Regions from separate parts of the Homo sapiens genome. Here region 2 is linked to region 1. The links are contacts of gene promoters, found by promoter capture Hi-C in blood cells and fetal thymus (Javierre and others, 2016). All regions are on one chromosome and are shown on one strand. The core of a region is centred on a gene start or on the middle of the fragment in contact, and the rest is flanking DNA. Distances in the headings are between cores, read along the strand shown.

Region 1 (3,860 bases), core at 760-3,259:
ATAATAACATAAAATTTTAAAATCTTCTGTTTCTTCAAGGATCTAAATTTGAAAACCACAGAAACTCCTAACTTAGCTCGCCAGGGTTTACACAGCAATGTCTGAATCCTAAGCTGGCTTTTCACTGCCTCAAGGAAGAAAAGTTTTACAGTAGAACCTAAAAGTTCCTAAATATCTGGCTGATGCTTGCTCTGGAAGGAAAGCTGGGAGGCAGGGAAGGATGGAAGGAGAACCCGTGTTCCATGCACACAGCAGCTCTGCTTTCCAGGAAGAACGCTTGCACTGAAGCTACAAGCTTCATCTGCCTTGCAGGAAGGTTTAGGGTCCTCCTTTTCCTACAGGAGGGAAAGGTCAAAGGGTGGAGTTTCGCAACACTCTTAAATTCATTCATTCTTTACGGTCTGAGGCTTGGGTTCTTCAAACTACAAAGGGAAGGAAGGCCCTTCAACAAAAAATGAGTCTACTTAGTATTGCAGATTAATTTTTAAACAGGATTAGAGGATTTGCACCAAGGTAAAGCACTATCCACTTTATGACGACTCACTTCAAATTTAAGATTGATAACAGTCCGATTTCAACATCTAGGGAAACTGGTAGAGCATTTTCGGACTGTCAGACCTCAAAAAAGAAAACAAATGTTTGAATATAAAAGGCCAATCTGCTCTCAGCACACCTCCTGTCTCTAAAATCCCCGAAAACAATCACTTTTTTTTTTTTTTTTTGAGACGGAGTTTTGTTCTTGTTGCCCAGGCTGGTGTGCAATGGCGCGATCTCAGCTCACTGCAACCTTCGCCTCCCAGGTTCAAGTGATTCTCCTGCCTCAGCCTCCCAAATAGCTGGAACTAAGGCACGCGCCACCATGCCCAGCTAATTTTGTATTTTCAGTAGAGACGGGGTTTCACCATGTTGGTCAGGCTGGTCTCGAACTCCTGACCTCAAGTGGTCCACCCGCCTCGGCCTCCCAAAGTGCTGGGATTACAGGCGTGAGCCACTGCGCCCGGCCCACAATCACATCCTAAGAGACAAACATGGAGTAAGCCATCTTACAGTCCTGGGAGAACCAACACTCGCTTGCCTACCACTACCGTCGGTGTGTCAGGCACTGCTAAAGGTACTGAGGAAAGTGGAAGGAACAATCACAAAAATGAAAAAGAGAAGAGAGGAACTGCACTCCATTTTAAACTCTGCTCGCTGGTTTTCGGTAGCTCTGCGGCTCGGTTTTCATCCTTCCGGGCAGTGTAACAAGTTCCTCCTGAACTCTGAGTCCGTGGCCGTCGCGGAGCTGAGCCACTTTCAGGGTGTGGGTCAGAGTAAGTTTGGGTTGAGGATGCTGCAGCCAGGACAATCAAACGGCAGCCCAGCCAGATCCCCACGCGGCTGGGGCTTAGCCCCGGGCTTCCTACCGCGAGCTGAATCCGTTCATAGGTCCTTAAAAATCAACAGCCCCGTACGCTACCCCTGGAGAGATTTCTACATTCTGACCACTCACTCAAACGCAAAGGTCACGTTAGCCGCTGAACTCCAAAGCAGAGGGGCTCGCCGCCAGGGCTCCGGGAGTTGGAGAAGGGCGCGGGAGGTGTGTCCAGGACACCAGCACAAAGGCTCCTTTCACCGCTCCGCGCCCCGCGCCCTCGGGTGCGGACCCTGGGCGCCCGCCGGCTGCGCGCCAGGACCCCGCCACTCCAGGCGGCTCCCAAGGCCCACGCGCTTCTGCTCCGCCCGGACTTCCGAGCCCAGCCGTGGCGCTCACCTGTCCTGCCCGCAGCGCCAGCTGCACGGCCGCCTGGAAGCACTCCTCCCAGGGGCCGGCCGCCAGCGCCGCCTGGTCCTCGCCGCTCGGCTTCATCGCGGCCTCGCCGGGCCCCTCCACCTCCAGCCCCCCTCGGCGGGACTCCGGCTCCCACCGGATCCCGCCGTCCCGCCGCCAGGCTCCACACTCCCTGTGCCTGCTCCCGCAGCTCTGTGCCTAGTCCGCCGCCCGTCCCACACCTGCGCTGGCGGGAAGGGCAGCCAGCGGGCCGCGGGAGCCGTGCGTCCTGCTTTCCGCTCCCCACCCTCCGCCCCGCCCCGTGCCGAGCCCAGCCCAGCTCCCCGCCCCGCTCCCCGCCCAGCTCCCTGCTCCCGCGTCCGGCCCCGCTCTGCATTCCCCACCTCGCCCCTCGCAGAGCTCGGCCCCGCCCATTCCCCCCTCTTCCCCGCCCCTTGACGCTCCCGGCCCCGCCCCGCACCCGTTGCTGCTCCTGGCCTCTTCCCGCGCCGTGCCCGGCCCCGTCCTGCACCGCCCCTCCCGCTCCCGGCTGCGCCCCGTACCTGGCCCCGCCCCTCTGGGCTAGCCCTGAACACAAATCAGTGCCGAGCCTGGTCCCTCTCCGCTCCGCGCTTTACCTCCAGCCCCGCCCCTGTGGTGCAGCATCACCCTCCCCGCTCGAGGCGGACCCAACCCTGCTCCGCCGTGCCCCGTCCCGCAGCGCGCAGAGCGGGCTCCAACTCCTCTGAGCCTCGAGCCCCGCCTCCCTCAAGTTGAGCCGGGCCCGTGTCCAAGCCCCGCCCCACCGCCGCGCGCTGAGACAGGCCCCACCCCCGGCTCGTGCAGAACTCCGTACTGTTCTGGGTCAAGCGCGCGGAGGGCGGCTTGGGCCACCGCAGAGCTGGGAGGGAGGAGCTAGGAGCGGCTGTTTTGGGGGCCCGGGGCAGCTACTGTCTGGGTGGGACCGTGCGGTGCCGGCCCAGCCCCGGAGGTGCCGGGGAGCGTCCCGTCCGCGGATCCCCGCGCACGTGGTGCCGGGCGTCCCTTCATGGTCTGTGGCCGGATTCGGGCTCGAGCGCCAGGGGCGGCTGGGCCAGCACCTTCCGACCGGTCGCTTTTTGTTCGCGGAGGCCGCTGGGCGCTAGGCGTCGTTCTCGGCCTCGCAGGAGCTCAGACCGCCGAGCGCACAAGGCCGCAGTGTTCCTGCAAGCGGCCGCCCCGCGCGGCAAGTTTGGTCGCAAACAAGCTCTCCCTCCGCTAACCCCAAACACTGCGAGGACAGCGGCTGGACTTTATAAACTCTTCACACCCAAAACTCGAATTTGGAGACGGAACTGTGATTGCGATGAGCCTCTGTAGTGAGGAATGACCTTTCCAACCTTGGATTCTCTTGCTGGCCCATGTAAACATAAATAGGAGGCATTTCCCGAAAGAGTGGCCGCGTGGTTTCCAAGGTTAATTTCATAAGCCGCTCTGCCTGCCCGTTTTATAAAAGATGCTAACCCACGTAAAATTATTCTGGAGTGCCACTTCGGAGTCTGGGAGAATAATGGGAGTTTGTACAAGAACCTTGATGGGGCATTTTTTACACACTTAACCTAATAATGAAATTAAACGTTTTTAGTTTTTGAGTACTTTATGCTGAAACACCTTGTGGAGAAACTTTAAGTGTACCGTATAAGAGACAAAAAGTACAAACAGGAGGAATTACAAACAGGAAATACAAACACGCAGATATGGGTACAACTTTAGGGACTCTGGCCTCACCCAGAGCCCTAATCCTACGGCTCAGAAAACTAGACCAATTGCCCTGCCTCCCACCACGCCAGTTTGGGGCAGCTAAGGGCGCACTCCCCTCCATCTTTTTTGGGTTCTTATGTTTTTATGATGTTTAAGACAGAGGCCGGGTGCGGTGGCTCACGCCTGTAATCCCAGCACTTTGGGATGCCGAGGCGGGCGGATCACGAGGTCAAGAGATCGAGACCAGCCTGACCAACAAGGTGAAACCCCGTCTCTACTAAAAATACAAAAATTAGTTGGGCGTGATGGCAGGTGTCTGTAATCCCAGCTACTCGGGAGGCTGAGACAGGAGAATCCCTTGAACCTGGGAGGC
Region 2 (3,860 bases), core at 990-3,489, 260 kb after region 1:
TGGCCTTGGCCTGTTTTCATGTTGTACAGACTACAACGTTTTATTTTTTTATTTTTTTCAAGACAGAGTCTCACTCTGTCACCCAGGCTGGAGTGCAGTGGCACGATCTTGGCTCACTGCAACCTCTGCCTCCTAGGTTCAAGTGATTCTCCTGCCTTAGCCTCTGGAGTAGCTGGGATTACAGGCATGTGCCACCACGCCAGGCTAATTTTTTTTTTTTTTTTTTTTTTTGAGATGAAGTTTCGCTCTTGTTGCCCAGGCTGGAGTGCAATAGCGCGATCTTGGCTCACTGCAACCTCCGCCTCCCAGGTTCAAGTGATTCTCCTGCCTCAGCCTCTCGAGTAGCTGGGATTATAGGCATGCGCCACCACGCCCAGCTAATTTTGTATTTTTAATAGAGACAGGGTTTCTCCATGTTGGTCAGGCTGGTCTCAAACTCCTGACCTCAGGTGATCCACCTGCCTCGGCCTCCCAAAGTGCTGGGATTACAGGCCTGAGCCACCATGCCCTGCCCAATTTTTGTATTTTCAGTTAGAGATGGGGTTTCATCATGTTGGGTAGGCTGGTCTCGAACTCACTCCTGACATCAGGTGATCTGCCCACCTTGGCCTCCCAAATTGCTGGGATTACAGGTGTCAGCCACCGCACCCAGCCAACATTTTATTTATTATCAGTAAATGCCTACTTTGTCAAAGCAAGAAACAACAAGTGGACTTAGAGCCTCCCATCTTTATGGTACAGTGAAGGGTGCTTTATTTGCTAACAAATTACATGGCAAAGCACTGTTGTACTATGCAATGATGCTATATCTATGCTAGAAGAATATATAATACATATCACTGTTAGCAGACCTACCACTCACAATATCCCCAACTCACAGAAAAGCAATGGTCAGAAAAATCAGAAAACTTAAAATGGAATGCCTCATCACAGCAGAATTTTCTTTACCCCAGTTAAGTTTCTGAGTGGCTCATTTGTTAGCCAAGCAGGAAAAATCATTTGCTGGTGGTAAGTTAATTAAATCATGTTTGATTGCAACTGCTGAAGAAATGTGTCCAGAGAAAATAAACTGTTAGTCTTTTGGTAAGAACAGTTGTTTGGAGAGTTGAGAATGTTGGGAACAACATTATTTGTCAATTCAAAACCAAGGTGAATGATTCTGAGTGGCTTTCCTTGGCTAGTGATGTTAACACCGATGATGCTCAGTTGTTACTGTTTATTCAAGGAGTCAATGCTGAGTTCAAAGGAACTGAAAATTTAGCCTCTGTGAACTGTCTTAGTGAATCAGCTATGGTGAGACTATTTTATTATTTATTTATTTATTTATTTATTTATTTATTTATTTATTTATTTTTTGAGACAGAGTTTCACTCTTGTCTCCCAGGCTGGAGTGCAATGGCATGATCTTGGCTCGCCACAACCTGCACCTCCAGGGTTCAAGGCCAAGGTGGGCAGATCACCTGATGTCGGGAGTTTGAGACCAGCCTAGCCAACATGGTGAAAACCTGACTCTAACTAGCCAGGCATGTTAGACTCTAATTAGCCAGGCATGATGGCTGGCTACCAGAGACAGATTCTCCTGTCTCAGCCTCCAGAGTAGCTGGGATTACAAGTACCTGCCACCATGCCTGGCTAACTTTTGTATTTTTAATAGAGACGGGGTTTCACCATGTTGGCGAGTCTGGTCTGGAACTGCTGACCTCAGGTGATCTGCCCACCTCGACCTCCCAAAGTGCTAGGATTACAGGCGTTTGAGTCACCGTGTCCAGCCGGTGAGACTATTTTCAAAGGCATTAAGGAAACATTAATTCAGTGAACTTGAATAAGTGGAATCCACTAAGATGAGTGACCACTGATGGTGGTAAAAATATCTGTGGAGCAGAAAAAGGTTTAGTTGGACAAATTTACAAAGCTTGTTAAATGTAAGGTTTTAAAATCCCATTGTTATTTATCTTACTAATCGCTAGCAAGTGCTCTGCGGACAATGTTTGAATCTGTCATGAGTTTTTGAACCCTTAGCATCAGGAGTGAAATTTACTTCTGTGAACATCGTCAGTTTCATTAATGTTTGTTAAAAACAGAAGCTGAGTATCCTGACTTAGCTTACAGCAGTACGGTGGCTTAGCAGTGGTAAAGTTTTATTGTGAATTTTTGAACTTAGAGCTGAGATGAACACTTTTCTGGAAGAGAAGAACCTTTGACAATCTCCATTATTGAACACTGAATTGCTTTGAAAATTGGCTTTTGCTGAAGACCTGTTTCTTAAGTAATTCAACCTAAAATTATAAGGTAAAATTGCATCTGTATGCAAATCTTATATTGCAATAAAGTTATTTAGGGACATTAATGTTGCTTGAATCATAAACAATGTCAAGGTGCTTTGCATACTTCCTGTGCTGTCAAAAGGTAAAACAGGAAGTGAGCTCTCCATTTCCACACAAATTTGCAGCAGAAATATTTTCCAAGCTCAAATGACAATTCCAGGAGCCTTTTCACAACTTGACAAAAGTACGAAGGAAATTTCCAAATTTCGACATCCATTTAACTGTGCAATTGAGAAGCTTCCACTTCAACTTCAATTGGAAGTGGTTAGTTTGCAATGTTATGCAATGCCAGAAGGCAGATATCAAGAGAAGAATCAAACACAATTTATAGATGTCTTCCAAATGATGAATATGCTCAATTAAAAATCACAAGCTTGTGGACTGACATCCATATTTGGCAGTATCTGTCTGAGTGAAAAGACATTTGCAAAGATGAAACACATAACGTCGCACTACAAGTCAGCATTGACAGATGACATCTGCTATTGATTTTGATAATGGGAGCACTTACTTTGAACATTAATTTAGTGAAATGTTATCCCTCCCCCAAAACAGTTGCATTCTTTTTATTAGTAGACCTATCTTACAAAAAATTGTACACAATTATTTTTGTTTTATGTTTTAGATTTCATTAATAAAAATTTGGTGGAAATTTGTTTTCTCTCCTCTTATGTAAGTATCTACATAATAATCCTTGATTTTACCATTTAGTCTATAAAACCTAAACTATTCATCCTACAGAAACAGTCTGCTAACTCTTGGTCTAGACTCACCTTGCTATTCAAAATACAGTTCACAGTCTAGCCTGATAAGCATCATGTGGTGCTTGCTAGGAAAACAGAATTGTGGGCCCCACCTGAGACCTACTAAATCAGAATCTGCATTTTATCAAAATCCCTGGGGATTCAAATGTTCATTAAAGGTTGAGGAGCCCTGCTGTGGAACATAAGCCAAAACAGCAAGTAGGTATGCTGTGTGGTCCACCAACCTCCCAGGGACATCTGTCTCTTGCACTCTATTGCTGGCACACACACATGCTGCTATAAATGTCTTGATGTTGCCACTGCAGCATGGTGCGAGCGCAGCTCTGCACCGTCCACGGCCGCTGCAGCATGGTGTGAGCGCAGCTCTGCACTGTCCATGGCTGCTGCAGCATGGTGTGAGTGCAGCTCTGCACTGTCCATGACAGCCTGCTTCCGTTCTTCCAGGGTGAGGCATCAGCCACTCAAATGCTTCAAGGAATAGTAGGTGTGCTGGATTTGTCTCCAAAAGCTACAACCCAACTACACATCCAGGGCGCAAGCAATTTAGTATCAACAGATTGCATGACTTAGATAAGAGGAACCCAGATTTTCGTGGATTTCTTCTTCCACTTGTATTTAAGGCAGGCTCAGCTGTCAGCTGCCTGATGGTCTCAGTTTCCCTCTGTTTGAATAAAATGCCAGTGTCATCAAAGGAAGAAACCGAGGCCTTGGATTTTATCCACCTAAACTCAGGCTGAAATACAGCAATACTAGGTACCTTTTATAATAACAT

Evidence for each region. The method cuts DNA at HindIII sites, captures the fragments that hold promoters and counts their contacts. A CHiCAGO score of 5 or more calls a contact.
Region 2: a fragment that was not itself captured here is called in contact with the fragment with the promoter of IMPA2 in region 1 in 1 of 17 cell types (M2 macrophages); the score reaches 5.2 in M2 macrophages.

The regions. Positions count from the first base shown.
Region 1 is chr18:11,979,656-11,983,515 of GRCh38, reverse strand. It overlaps IMPA2 (inositol monophosphatase 2), which reads right to left and starts at 2,009. Exons shown (of 8, transcript NM_014214.3): 1 at 1,751-2,009. The coding sequence starts at 1,846. RefSeq lists silencers at 1,472-2,951, 2,792-3,086. The HindIII fragment of the contact is 12,350 bases long and covers 298-3,860 here.
Region 2 is chr18:11,719,383-11,723,242 of GRCh38, reverse strand. The region is part of intron 1 of GNAL (G protein subunit alpha L); the gene reads right to left. Among named protein-coding and RNA genes, the nearest start is that of GNAL, 32 kb to the right of the region's middle. The HindIII fragment of the contact is 649 bases long and covers 1,915-2,563 here.